2 separate regions of the Homo sapiens genome follow, and region 1 is linked to region 2. The links are contacts of gene promoters, found by promoter capture Hi-C in blood cells and fetal thymus (Javierre and others, 2016). All regions are on one chromosome and are shown on one strand. The core of a region is centred on a gene start or on the middle of the fragment in contact, and the rest is flanking DNA. Distances in the headings are between cores, read along the strand shown.

Region 1 (7,095 bases), core at 284-2,783, 290 kb after region 2:
CACAAGATCTGATGGTTTTATAAATGGGAGCTCCCCTGCACAAACTCTCTTGCCTGCTGCCACGTAAGACATGATTTTGCTCCTCATTCGCCTTCAACCATGATTGTGAGGCCTCTCCAGCCATGTGGAACTATGAGCCAATTAAACCTCTTTCCTTTATAAATCACCCAGTCTCAGGTATGTCTTTATTGGCAGGATGAGAGCGGACTAATACAATCAGTTTCCACAAACAAACCAAAAAAACTTTTTTTTAAAAACTTACACCAATAATTTTGTGGGTTTAAGTTCTCTGCTGAAGATTGAAGGGTCCCAGGGAGCAAATTCCATTGTGAACCAGGCAGCTTTCACCACCTAGCAGGTTCAGACTCTCTCTTTCTCTTCCCATTTCTGCACAAGTATCATCTTCCTCCATTCTCATACAGAACCATCCAACCCACACCCAGATTCCTGGGGGGTCTCCACCTGCCTTCTAGCATTTATTAAGGTACTATCATAAACAAATACAATTCCTTTTCAAAGAGGAATTCTAGTAGCAGTTCCTTGATTATAATATGTTTCTTTAAATATTATATTTTTCTAGCTAGTAAGATGTAGAAGTCCCACTTTGATTGCAAATTCCATGAAGGTAGGCCCTGTACCTTATTCTTTATTTGTATCCTCCATTCCACCGGAAACAATATAGGGCAGGAGGGCACTCAATATGCACTCGATGAACTAAGTTAAATTAAATGAGAGTCCACAAAAATGGATCTAGAAAAAGACTGTCACGTAGCTTTCTGTTTAAAAATTACCAGAAGGAATGCAGGGTCACCTGCTGAATGGCCCAAGGCAGGAATCAAAGGGAAGGAGAAGTGACCCACTTGGCTTATACTTTACAATAACAAGATGGAGCCAGGAGGCAAGTGTGTGTCTGTGCCATCGGCGCTTCACCTGTGCTCCCATTTTCAAACCACCATTTCCTGTGGCAGAAGCTCCAGCTCTTCTTCTCTTTGCTCAGTCATGTAGTGAGGCCTCTCTGGATGGTGATGCTGAGAAATCAAAGTTGTCTTGGGGTCTAGAAGCTCCTGACTCCTTCATTCACAAAGAAATGCTACCTGAACATTTCTGAACCAGAGGTTTGGAACTCCCCCTACTCCCGAGGCTCTTAGAGGCGGCCGAGCAGGCTGGTCAATAACTCACATGCCATTTGGGAAGAGTGCTTTGCTCGAGTCTCCACCCTGGGCCCTCTCCACCTATTGTCTGTGGTTTAAACGTGATAACTTGGCAGACAGTCACACATCCAAGGAAAAAGCCAGAGGGCGTTTTTTTTCTTGTCTCTGAAAGTGTTGTCACAGAAACACAGAAGCGTGTCTCTCTCTCTCTCTCTCTTCTCAAGTCCCAAAATCTTATTATTAATATTTTTTTTAGGGAAGATGAAAAAGAAAACTAAAAAGAATCTGAGAAACAAATGCAGTTCACCTAGGAGATACTGCGACGTTAGCGTAACGGTGGGAGCGTGCCGGATCTCCTTCCTGCCTTTCATGTGGTTCTGTCAGCAAAGGCTGCCATCTTCAAGAGATACATTCTTGTTCGTGGCAGTTTCCATTCAGAACTGGGGGTGGGGAAGGATCCTCATGAACCATATACTAATTTAAGTTCTGGGACCATCCAAGTAAACATTTTTACGGAGTTCACAGCTTCCAGAAAAATCACTTACAACCTGCCTATCCCACCCAGCATTGCAGAGGCTACTAGCTCCAGTGAGATTGCGCTCATGCTTTCGTGGTAATACGAGTCTTTTCTGGGCATGTAGCTGCTCAGCTAGGAGCTATGTGTCTCAGCTTCCCTTATAGCGGGTGTGGCCCATGACCAGGCTCTGGGCTGTGCAAAGTTTCCAGGTTTTTCCTTTCCACCATTGTTTTTACGCTCGCTAAATTGGGAAGACCCTAGAGAGAGACCTGTCTTAGTGCCTGGAACATCTAAGTGACTCTGAAACAATGGGAACTCCCTATTTGAAGAAATGACCTTGTTAGAAAGGGGAAGCCTCCGGAGCTCACTGGCAGGCGTCAGCCTTTTCTTTCACTGAGCTAACTCAGAGGTGCTGAGCCAGCGGTTTGCTGATCTGCTGAAAAAGATCCTCTCTTCAAGATGAGCTTCCAGGGGCATTCCTTTCTAGATTCCTTCATTCTAGCACAGCCATATCTATTTCAGAATACAGTCATCGAGGATGGCAGCAAGTCACACACTGTCCACAGCTGACCCACATCCACTGGCTTCACATGACCTAGCCAGAGTACTTCATAGCACCCTAAGAATTGGACTTTGCAATAAAGATGCTTCATTATGATAGACATTAACACACTGAAATGGCAATTGGAACAAGGATGAATACATGACCTGAACAAATGTCACCTAAAGAAAAAGATTTCAAGGAACATATAAGTTTTTGCACAGTTTCGCTTAAGTGAGTCCTGTCAAGATTCAGTGCTCACATCACATTGCATTCCGTCTCATCACACCATTAACCGCTGTGAGGTTTTCATTAATGAAAATGAAAAATGTCTTAAAATCACTGTCCTGATGACAGATGGCAAAGCAACCTCTAATAAACCCTCGGACCCCACCCTTTCATCCCAAGGCTGGGGTTTTCCTTTGTATGCCCTAGGAAAAATGTCTTTGTTAACTGACAGTTGCTGCTTTGGCTCGGGTCCCATCATTTTGATGGATGACTGCAATAATGGCCCCCAGGAACTGGTTTCTCTTTCTTCCCCACTTCCCTGCCCCAGTCTGTTCTCTATACTACTGGAGTTCCTCTTTGAAAAGCAAGACTGATGGTGTCACTCCTCTATCTAAAACTCTTTATTAGTTCCTATCACCTACAAGATAATACAGAGCAAGACCCAGCTGTATCTGCTCCTCCCTCTGCCTGGAATGTCTTTCATCAGCTTGGGTAATTTCTACTTATTTTTAAAACCCAGTTTATGTCACATTCTCTGGGATGCTCTCTCTAATCCCCCGAGACAGTGTTAATAATTCCCTCCTGTTTGTTGCCTTGCATATATTTCCATTTTACATCCGTCACACTGTCTAATCTCGGATCATTGTTTACTTATACAGCTGTCTTCTGCCTTAAGGCAAGGATCATGTCTTTTTTATCTTTGTGTACTGGCCCCTAGCACAATGTAGAGTGTAAATGTTTTGTCAAACTAAGTGCAGTGTTTTAAGAACTGGTAGTATTCGTTATTCATGCGCAAACACAAATCAAGGTACTGATACAATTCTGTTTTCAGTATTTAGGCAATCTGGTATACTGCGCAGGGCAGGCCACAAACCAGCTGTGTGATCTGGTTCTGAGGCAGGGAAGGTCTGGTCCCCTATCCCTGCAGGCTGGCAGGGTGGGGAGGAGGCATCTCTACTTTTATTACATGTTGAATTGTGTTTTCCCAAATTCATATGTTGATTTCCTTATTTGGACATAGCGTCTTCACAGAGTTAATTGAGTAAAACTGAGGTCATTAGGGAGATGTTTTGGGCTGAATTTTGTCTCCCCTCCCCCAAATTTCTATGTTGAAGCTCTAACCCCAAGGACCTCAGAATATGACCGTATTTGGAGGCAAGGTCTTTAAAGGTTATTAAGTTAAAATGAGGTCATTAGGGTGGCCCCTAATCTAACCTAACTGGTGTCCTTATAAGAAGAGGAAATCTGGACACACAAAGAGACACCAGGAAAGAGAAAGAGAGAGAGAGAGAGATCAGGGTGTGAGTACACGAAGGAAAGACCAGGTGAGAACACAGTGAGAAGGTAGCCATATGCAAGCTAAGGCGAGAGGCCTCAGAAGACACCAAACCTGCCAACACCTTGACCTCAAACTTCTAGCCTCCAGAACCAGGAGAAAAATAAATTTCTGTTATTTAAACCACCCAATCTGTTGTACTTTATTATGGCAGCCCTAGCAAACTGAGACAGGTGGGCCCTAATCCAATATGACTGTTGTCCTTATGAGAAGAGGAAATTTGGACACAGAAATACACATAGAGAGAAGATGATATGAAGAGACAAGGAGAAGACAGCCATTTACAAGCCAGGGAGAGGCGCCTGGGAGAGATCCTTCTCTGACAGCCCTCAGAGAAGAACAATCCTGCTGACACCTTGACTTTAGACTTCTAGCCTCCAGAACTGAGAGCCAATACATTTTGATTGTTTAAGCCACTCAGTGTGTGGTCCTTTGTTACAGCAGCCTTAGCAAACTCATACACAGTGGCAAGCCTCTATTGGCAGTTCTTATTGACACACACACACACTGAATCAAGGACTGTCTACTCTGGGAGGGACTTCATTTGTTCGCCCTTTTCATTTTACTGGGGATGAAACAGAGACCCAAGAGAGGGGAACGGCTGGACAGTTCTCTTACAAACCGAGCCGAGATCCTGACAGGGCCCTTCCTGTGGTGCCAGGTTTCTACTGCTTCCTGTCCCTCCACTCCTCACAAGAACCAGCTTCCTACTCAGTAAATCTGGTTCCCACTGGTGCATTCTTGGTCCTCAGAGTGGCTTAGATGGGTAAGTCCATCTTCACATGTTTTCTTAGAACGTCCTGAGCTGAGTGCCCTTAGTATAAGCTTTATGGCCCACCAACACTTTGGTATGCCCTAATTAAATTCTTTTTAAACTACATTGAGGAGCATGAAGAAAGTTCTGCCCCTTTTTTGGGTTAGGCCAGGGTAAAATATTCAGTGCCCTGTTTTTGTACTCTAATAGGGCAGCTATACCCAGAGAGGGCTGTGCTGAGGTAAGGGCTACTGCTTCCTCATTTACAATTAAAAAATACATTATATTTTTGTAGCTTTTATAATAAAAATTACATTTTTATTATGGTTTATAAGGCATTTTAAGTGCTTTATCTCTTTCACTAATGCCTATGAGGCTTCCAGAATCAGAAAGCCTAGCTCCATCACTTGCTCTGTGTGTGACCTTACTTAACCATGTTATAGCTTTGTTTCCTCATCTGTGAAGTGGGGATACTATCAATATTATTTTGTTGCTGTGAGGATTAACTGAGATGCCACATAACTGGCACATAGTAAACCATGATGACCCGCCAGTTGCTGTTATTTAGAGATGAAGAATCTAAATCTCAGAGGGATTGAGGCACTTGCCCTTGTAAGTAGAAAGGGCAGCATTGGCTCTAGGACTTCCGGGGTCACATTCTGTAAGCTACCCACTATGCTGCACAGCTTGCTTGTCCTGCCAGCACCTTCTAAATGACTGTGGGTGGGGAGAGCGCTCTGAACTGGGGGGTAGCCTCTGAATGTGGTTTGTATGCAAGGTGGGCAAGCAGCCAGACATATCCAGTAAGTGAGAGGACGGGGGACTCTGGCTATGAAATGTCTGGGGAGGAAACATGCAGGGGGTTAGACTCATTCAAGAACTTCCAGGGGCACACTGGAGGCCAGGTGGGATTTTCCCAGCAGTCCATCTGGGAATACTCCAGGGGAGTCTCTGTGACAGGCAGTGCTATGTGGAAGGGCATTACTTGGCTGAGTTCCCCTGTCCCTCAACCATGACCACCTGGGAAAGCCCTCCACATGGACACCATGGCTACTGTAGGCAGAAGACCCATTGGAACGATTCCTATGTCCCCCCAGTGGATGCAGAGAGGAGAATGTCAGGGTGTAAGCAATGCCTTGCAGAGCAACACCCTGGTCCTACAGTCCCTGAACCTGCCTGAGGCAGGGACACAAGATCTGTTAGTGAAAAGGGCCTGTGTTCTGTCCTGTATCCAAGTGGTTAAATGGGCTTACTTAGTAAGTTCTGTCTTCCTTTTGCTGACAGAATAATGATGCTTTTCTTTCTAGAGGAAGAACAGTCAGAAGATGTAGGTTTAGGGGTTAACTCCACTATCTACATGCCAAAGAAACTTGAAGAGGGTACTTAAATGGTATGAACGTCAATTTCCTCATCTGTAAAATGAAAGTATAACACCTATCTGGCAAGGTTATTGTGAGGATCAAAAGAGATTACACAGTTGAGAGTGCTTTGCTAATGATGAAGCGCTGTGCAATTTATTATTTTTCCTCAAACTTCACAGTCCAGGTCTTAGTCTCTCGTTCTGACTCCCCTGGCCCTGCTATGGGATTCACAGTCCATTCCATAAAACGAGGACCTTCACTATATCCTGTGTTTCATTATTAAGCAATGTTTTACGTCTTATCTTTACAATGAATTGTTAGAGAGGAGAGATCACATATCATATTTATTCACAATTTCTTACCAGGTAGGTGATCAGTAAATACTAATTGACGGTGTAGAACTGCCCCAGCATTAGTGGAGCATAGACTTGGGAGCCAGGCCCTCCCACCTGCAATCCCTCACCCAGCCAACCTTGCAGGTTGGAGTCAAGGCAAGAGGCAGAGAAGGCTACGCCTTGGAGACTTAGGCTCTGGGTCTGTCTCTATCACCTCCTGTTGGTTTCGTCAACTGTGAACTGAGCATAAAAATGCCACCCTGGTCAATATGAGAGTGAGCTCACTAAATGCACATGGTAAACTTTTGCAAACTATAAAGAAAATGTAAAGTATTGTTACTAAGGTGAATGCCATGGCTGGGGAGCAATTGGACCATGTGAAGACTGAGCCCATGCTCATTAAGGTGGCACACAGGCTGCCACCAGTGTACTCACCTGAGGGGTCTGTCCTGCATCCGGGCCACGGGCTGAAGGTCTGGGAATTGTTGCTGATAGGGTTGCTCACGGTGCAGATGTAGATATTGTCAGCATGCTGGGGGCCGAGGGTGAGGGACAGGAGGTGGGAGCTGTTGGCTGGGTTCAGTGGGTGGGTGCCCGCCTTTTCACTCCAGCTGTAAGCCACATGGTCCCCCTTCTCCACTGTGCAGCCCAGTATCAAGGTGCAGGTCCCGTTCTCCTGGGTCTTGTTTAAAACTTTAATTTCTGGAGTGGAGACCTGCTCTGTCAGGAGTGGGAGGAAGGGAGCCATCACTGAAGTGAACCCCTGGGAATTCTCACTTGACCTTTTTGTTAGAACAAAGTACAGCCTAATGGCATTTTCCCTCCCCCTCAATGTGATTTATTTCTAGTGGGGAATCTATTGCTTCACACTG
Region 2 (7,476 bases), core at 3,743-6,242:
AGATCTGTCAGGTGGTTTGAGTTTTGATTGCCCCAGGATGTGGTGCCTAAAAACTAGAAAACAGAAAGAAATGTCCTTCCTATAATTCTAATAGCTCTTTTCTCTGTAGGCAGCTGTCACTCTTTACTCCCATCACCTAAGTTCTGCGGTATAATCACAATATATAACTTCTTGAAGTTGCTTATGAAAAGACTTTACCTTTTTATGAATTAAATTTCACTGGTTCGGTTTGACACATAGACTTAATGAAAACAACTAAAGGAAGTAAACAGAGGAAATTTTGATTTATTTTTATAGGTTGCTAGTCTCTGGCTCTAACTTTTGCTATTATGATAGTCAGTTGTCTTTAAAGAATTGCCTATATTCTGTCTGCTTCCTCATTTCACACTAAGGCCTTCCAAATTAAGCAATTCAAAGGTTATTTCTCAATCTTGATCTTATTCTGAACACTTTCTCCTTCCCAAAATTCTCTTCTTCCTTGGCATCCAAGAGGCTTCTTCTCCCTCTTGGTTCATCTCGAACCCCTCGAATCACTGTTTCCCATACTAACTCTACTTCCTCTCTCTCCCTTAAATGATGGTCTGTCTTCTTATTCAACGTACTCCTTGAGCAATATCTTCTACTGCTTCTCCTTTGGCTCCTCCCTTCATGACGACAAATCACAAATATATTTCTAGCACAGACACCTCAACTAGACTGTCCCTTAGGTCCCTCAAAATCACCAGAGACAAGATGGAATTCATTATCCATTCTCTTCCACTCCAGAAAACTATCTCCTCCTGATTTTCCTTTCCTAGTTAATGACACCCCCTTTACCCAGTGACCTAAACTAGAAGCCTGAAAGTCAGCTCATTTATTTCTCCTTATTGGCCCTTATTTCTCCTTATTGGCCATCTCATTTATTTCTCCTTATTGGCCATCACCCAACAGACACACTGATTCATTTCCTTAAATTCTCACATCCATCTCCTTCTCTCCATTTCAAATGCTACTACCTAAGCTCAGGTTTCCTAACTGGTATTTTTGCCTCCTGTCTTGCCCAAATCATCCAATCTTTTCTTTAATTACCACCAAGTAATCATTTTAAAAACATATAAATCTGGTATCACTCCTGTATTTAAGTTCCTCAAATGGCTCCTAGTTATCTGCATGATAACATCTAAACTCCTGAGCGCCACAAACAGGTACTCCATGATCTGGCCCCTCTCATCTTCTGCCCCTTCTCTCACCATTTCTCCAGGTTTTCTCCATACAAAACCAATAACAGCTGCCCTGTATCTAGCTGTGTCATGCTTTTTGTCTTTGCACCTATACTGCTCTTTCCTATTTCACTGTGAATATCTCTCTATTATATTGCTTACCAAACTGTACATGCTATTACTTGGATATATGTTTATCTTCTGTATTAGAATAAAAGCTCCTTGAAAACAGAAGCCATTTCTTATTTATTTTTGAATTCCCTAAAAAGAAAACAGTGTCTGGTACACAGTAAGCATTCAATAAATGTTTGCTGAGTAAGTTCTCCGGATAATGTTGTCAAAGGCCTGAGCTCTGTATGAATGAAATTTCCTGTCTTTCAGTTCCTTTCATGATTCCCAAACCTTCCCACATCCTCTTTCCTTTATTCTCAGTTATGACAGACCCTCTGTACCTTAATCTTATAGTCATCTCCTCCAGAGACGAACAGTGGCTGCTGCTTATGGAAGTCAATGCCTCGCACTGGACCTGGTGGAGAAGGCAGGCAATGTATGTTAGACAGAGCTATCCTTTCTAATCTCTAAGGTGATTCCTATTCAGGATTTTTCAGTTCTATCATTTCCACATTCTTTAATCATAGAGGAATCCATGTCAAACAAGGCTTAAAATACCCCAGGATATTATAAATACTTATACTCCTTTAACTTCCTCCTAGAAATATCTCACCATCATGTTCATCAAACTTGTCAATGAGAGTGCACATCCGATAGTCCCATAACTGGATGACCCCATTATGTAAACTAGTCAGGATCCAAGGTCTTTTGGGGTGAAAGCTGAGCCCTGAAAAAAATAGAAAATGATACAATGAGCTAACTAAGCCCCATGATGTCACCTTCTGTCAATTCTGATAAGAAAAAGAAACATCAAGGTTAATCCTAGGTTCATTCATTCGACATGCTTGATGATTTTTTACTGGATGCCAGACATCGTGAATTTTATGTTTGGTACTAGATTTTTGTCATATTCCTTTACATATTCTTGGGCTTTGCTCTAGGATACAATTAAGTTACTTGGAATCAGTTGATCCTTTCAAGGCTTGCTTTTAGGTTTTATTACAGAGGGGCTACAGCAGCCTTCATTCTAGGCTTAATCTGGAACCACTATTAAAGCAATAGCCATCTGAGGTCTCTATTTGAAGCCCTGTAATATTAGGAAGTCTTTCCTTTCTGGCAAGTAGGAACACAAACTAGTCCCAGTTCACTAGTGTGAACTCTGGGGATTGCTCTGCCTTCTCCTTTCCAGTGGTCCTTTTTCAGGTTTTGAATAGTTTTCTCACATGCAGATCAGTACTCAAACAAAGACCTGAGAAGACATCCTGCAGATCTCTAGTGCTCTCTCTCTGCAGCCCCCTCTTCTCCGGTATTTTGCCCAACAAAATCTAGCCATCTTTGCTTCCCCACACTCTAAATTTATGTCTCCTCAGAAAGACCAAGGGATTCCCCTCTTCACTGAAGCCTAAAAACTCTCTAGGCAGTAATCTACGACAATCACAGGACTCACCTTGTTTATTTGCCTTCTCTGGAGAATTATTTTCCTGCACTGCCTGTTGCCCAACATCTGTGAGCAATGTATGAACCTTTGTTTCATACATTTTGTTCAGTTGTATAGTTAAGGTGGGAAGGTAAATCTGGCTCTTGTTATTCTATCATGACTGGAAATGGAAGTCCCCAGAGGTAACAACTACTAACAGTTTGAAGTGTATCCTTTCAGATTTTTAATGCAGTTACACATAGACATAGGCTTTAGTATTTTATGAAAGTGGGGATCACGTTATGATGTTGTTCTGCAAACTTCTTCCTCACTTAACTATATAATATGGATCTCATGGAAGTACATATAAACATAACCTCATTCTTTTTAACTACAAGGGACAAATGTACTACACTTATATTATTCTAACAGGCATTTTGTCCGCCAATTTTTGGCTATCAGAAGAGCCTACTGAAGATACTTCTACACATAATCTAGCCTATTTGCATTATTACTGCCCTAGGCTAAAGACCTGTGAGATTGCTCAGGAATAGAATATGTGCACTTAACATTTTAGTACATATAGTTTAAATGTAAAAACACTGTATCAATATACAGTCTCATGAAGTTTATGGAGGTGCCCATTTTGCACACAGGCTGCTATCAGCTATTTGTTGTTTTGTTTTATAAATCTAAGACCCTCCCCCCAAAAAAGTAACTTAACTTTTTTTTTCTTGCATTTCTTTCATTACTAGTGAGGTGGAACTATTTTAATTATTTATTGAACATTTACAATTTTTCTTCTAAATTGTCTATTTTTCCATTAGGTTCTTTTTTTTAATTATGATATATAAGTACACTCAACAATGGATGTTTGCCCTCAAATATTATGACATCTTTGTTTTTCCTTCTGTACTGCCCAGCAAGAAATTAGGAGCAGAAAAGAAAACTGAAAGATTATGAAGACCCATTTCACATTTCACCTATACAGGTCTCAGAAATTCTTAATGGTACCCATCTTTCAAGGTCAAGTTTCCCAAGAGACTTAGAAACTGCTCAGAATATATTCACACATTGATAACAACCTCCAGTTTTTGAGCTACTGAGTCTACACCAGGCGCTGTAATAAATACACTCCATATACTTTCTCATTTTAATACTCTCTATAAAAGACGATTTTACAGATGAGGAAATACAGACTTAGAGACATTAAGTAAGTCATCCAAGTCACAGCTTGTTAGTGGATGTCTCAGGATTCCAAGGCAAGCCCATCTGACTTCAAAGACCAAGTTCCTAACCACTTTGTTACGCTGCATCTCACTAAATATTCTAGATACTATTTTTTCCAGGTCTTCGGAGACCTTACTTCTCTGACTTTCACATTCTAACGTTCTGAGGCTAATACTGCGATCTCAGTATTTGCCCTCCACCCCCAACGACCCACACTCGAGCTCTAGAGCTGCCGTACTTAGCAAATAAAAATACGAGATTTCCAGATAAATTTGAACTTCTGGTAAGCAACGACAGACTAAAAAACTATTCATTGTTTACCTGAAATTCAAATTTAACTGGGTATCCTGCATTTTATCTGGCAACTCTATCAAGTTGAGACTTTATTGGGGTTATAAGCCTCAAGTACTATTTCCGGGTAGTAAATAAAGCCGAATGGAGGCACTGATGTTGAGATGCTGCAGCCAAGGCCTCCTTAAGTGAGGTTGCCACTACTCGTCTCCAAAAAGGCTACTGACTCGGGTGCGAGTAACAGAGATCGAGACTCAGTTCCCAGGGCCACTCCATATAACACAGTCATCAAAAAGCCAACAGATCACAGGGCCTTTGGAGCAGAACAACACAAATCGGGAGCACAGCCAAGAGAGAAAGGGGGAAGAAAGAATAGGGAGGGGGTCTAAGGAATCCCCTGCAGTGTGGGAGCCACTTTATAGGTAAATCGAAGCCCAAGGACACACCAAAGAAGAGGGGACTGGAGAACCGCTAGCCAGGCCCAACCTCTCTCCCACCCTCCGTCTTCCTCCGGGTCCGTCTGGTGGGCCCATTTCGACCAACACCTCTACCCATTTTCTCTTCCCCGGTGTCAGCGCCGCTCCTGACATCCAACCTCCATGTTCCCCCTTTTATTCTCCACTACCTTTGACCCGCGCGCTCTTGGTCTCGAATTTGGTTAACATCTCTCAGGTCTCCGACTCCGATGTCTTAATCCGAGCCCCGACACACCCTGCTGCCCTTCGGACGCCTCCACGTCAGCGACCCTCTCCCGCGGTTTCCGGAAGCGCCTGGAAACACGAACTTCCGGTCTCTTAGGCTCCGGGCCACAGAGACGGTGTCAGTGGTAGCCTAGAGAGGCCGCTAACAGACAGGAGCCGAACGGGGGCTTCCGCTCAGCAGAGAGGCAAGATGGCTACGGCAGGGGGTGGCTCTGGGGCTGACCCGGGAAGTCGGGGTCTCCTTCGCCTTCTGTCTTTCTGCGTCCTACTAGCAGGTGAGGCCTCCCCGCCCGTGAGCTCCGTTCTCTAAGGGGAACTCTCGGATCGGCCCCGCCGCGACCGCCACTGTCTCCCTTCTGGTTCCTGCTGCCCCTCTGTCCCCCCACCCTGTAAATCCTCTTTCTTTTTCGTTCCCACGACAGAAGTTCCCCCTTTGCCTGGACCTGAAGGTCCCTTCTCCCCCGCAGCACGTCGTGTCGCTTCACTCCCTTCTCTAGGCCTCTTCCTGGACTTCGAGCCTGACCCTCTCCCACTTTGTCCAGATGTCTCGTTTTTCCCACAACCCCAGCCACCCACCCCACAGTCGAAAGGAACAGGTGTGAAAGTTAGCTTTCTTCCTCGCGTTTAGACTTTTTGAGACGAAAGCAATCTTGTTCTGTGGGTGCTGTGCGGCGCTTAAAAGGTGGATTTCTTATTTCTTCCTCTGTTGATTACATCCTAAGTCTGTGTCCCCCTGCCTTGCCTCAGGTTTTTTTTTTTTTTTTTTTTTTAATCAGTAAAGCAAGAATAAGGTAGGATATGGGTACTCTTAACTGTGAAGACCCTGAAGTAACAATTCAAGGAACTTTTGGCATTTATAATGTACTTAAGTGTTTGCTGATACGCGTTCATTTACTGATACATGGCTTTTTAGTTGGTCAAGCCCTAAAATGCAAATGCCTGTATATAACTATGACTGTGCCTTCCCCCAATTCACATTGTTTTTAAGGATCCTCAAAGGAGAAACTACAGCTGCCCCACACTGTGGGCACACAAATGACCTGCTGATGTTAAATTAACTGACCCGTGTATGTCATAAGGTTTCTCTCAATTCTGTTCACACTCTTGGAAAAATGCCTCAGAAAGTTTTCTTAGCCCAGCACCTGTGTATTAACCAATTAGTAATATACATACAGGATATACAAGCAGAAGTGTGATCACCTGTGCAACCAGAATCTGGCAAATCTAAGGTCAAACACCTTTCCTTTGACCAAGTTTTCTCTCTTTTAGTGTCACTGTCAATGGCGCTACATGGACTTTGTAATAACCCTTTGAGGCACATAGCTGGGTGCCATGTAGAACATGTATCTGTTACGATAAGTGTGTGCCCAAGAAATCAGAAGAATGGACTTTAATCTCATTTTAGAAAGTATGATATTAAATGATTTACCCAAGCCATACTTCAGGTTAATGACACGATAGAAGCTAGTACCTGTGTCTCTCAAATTTTTCTAACACTTTTTATCTTCCGATCAGGTTTGTGCAGGGGAAACTCAGTGGAGAGGAAGATATATATCCCCTTAAATAAAACAGCTCCCTGTGTTCGCCTGCTCAACGCCACTCATCAGATTGGCTGCCAGTGTGAGTTGAGATGGATTCATGTTTGTGGACATTGATATTTGTCTGTGCCCTAGATACTAAGTAACATCCATGTCCTGCTTAGGAGATTTGACACTTATATTGGACTGTATGTAGGCAGTTACAGATAACCGTCTGTCAAGCTAGGCAAGATAATTAATAAGAACTAACATTTAGTAAATGCTGCATACCAAGCTTTTTACATGTGCATCTCATACAACCCCAACCACAACCCCACAAAATAGGTCTTACTGTTATTGTCACTTTATAAATGATGAAACTAAAACTTAAAGAAGTTGAGTAACTTTCCCAAGATCATACTGGTAATAAGTGATGATGCCAGGATCTGGTGGCCCGAGCACTAAGCTGAGAGACCTTTTTTTTTTGACACGGAGTTTCACTCTTGTCCCCCAGGCTGGAGTGCAATGGCACGATCTCGGCTCACGGTGACCTCTGCCTTCTAGGTTCAAGTGATTCTCCTGCCTCAGCCTCTTGAGTAGCTGGGATTACATGCACCTGCCACCATGCCCAGCTAATTTTTGTATTTTTAGTAGAGATGGTGTTTCACCATGTTGGCCAGGCTGGTCTCGAACTCTTGACCTCAAGTGATCCACCCACCTTGGCCTCCCAAAATGCTGGGATTACAGGCGTGAGCCACCGCACCCAGCCGAGCCAGCACTCTTAACCACCCTATTATACTGTTTTTTAAGGAGAAAAAAGTCTCATATTCTATGGTGTCCAGTTATCACTTGCACTCTGAACTTTTTGGAACCAAAATGGGCTAAAGGCAATGAACTATCTGAAGAGAAGGCACTGAAAATGCCAAATAGGCTGGGCGCAGTGGCACATGCCTGTAATCCCAGCACTTCAGGAGGTCAAGGCGGGTGGATCACTTGAGGTCAGGAGTTTG

What was found. Contacts are between HindIII fragments. The CHiCAGO score rates a contact against its expected background, and 5 or more counts as called.
Region 1: a contact is called between a fragment that was not itself captured here and the fragment with the promoter of COPA in region 2, in 6 of 17 cell types (naive B cells, total B cells, fetal thymus and 3 more). The highest score is 11.9, in naive B cells.

What each region holds. Positions count from the first base shown.
Region 1 is chr1:160,627,955-160,635,049 of GRCh38, forward strand. SLAMF1 (signaling lymphocytic activation molecule family member 1) reads right to left here. Exons shown (of 7, transcript NM_003037.5): 3 at 6,659-6,943. Among named protein-coding and RNA genes, the nearest start is that of SLAMF1, 16 kb to the right of the region's middle. RefSeq lists an enhancer at 1,706-1,795. The HindIII fragment of the contact is 6,126 bases long and covers 1-4,596 here.
Region 2 is chr1:160,338,258-160,345,733 of GRCh38, forward strand. COPA (coat protein complex I subunit alpha) reads right to left here and starts at 4,993. Exons shown (of 33, transcript NM_004371.4): 1 at 4,874-4,993; 2 at 1,924-2,037; 3 at 1,652-1,725. The coding sequence starts at 4,913. NCSTN (nicastrin) reads left to right here and starts at 5,126. Exons shown (of 17, transcript NM_015331.3): 1 at 5,126-5,224; 2 at 6,465-6,569. The coding sequence starts at 5,140. RefSeq lists enhancers at 4,926-5,873, 5,146-5,195. The HindIII fragment of the contact is 9,711 bases long and covers 1-6,759 here.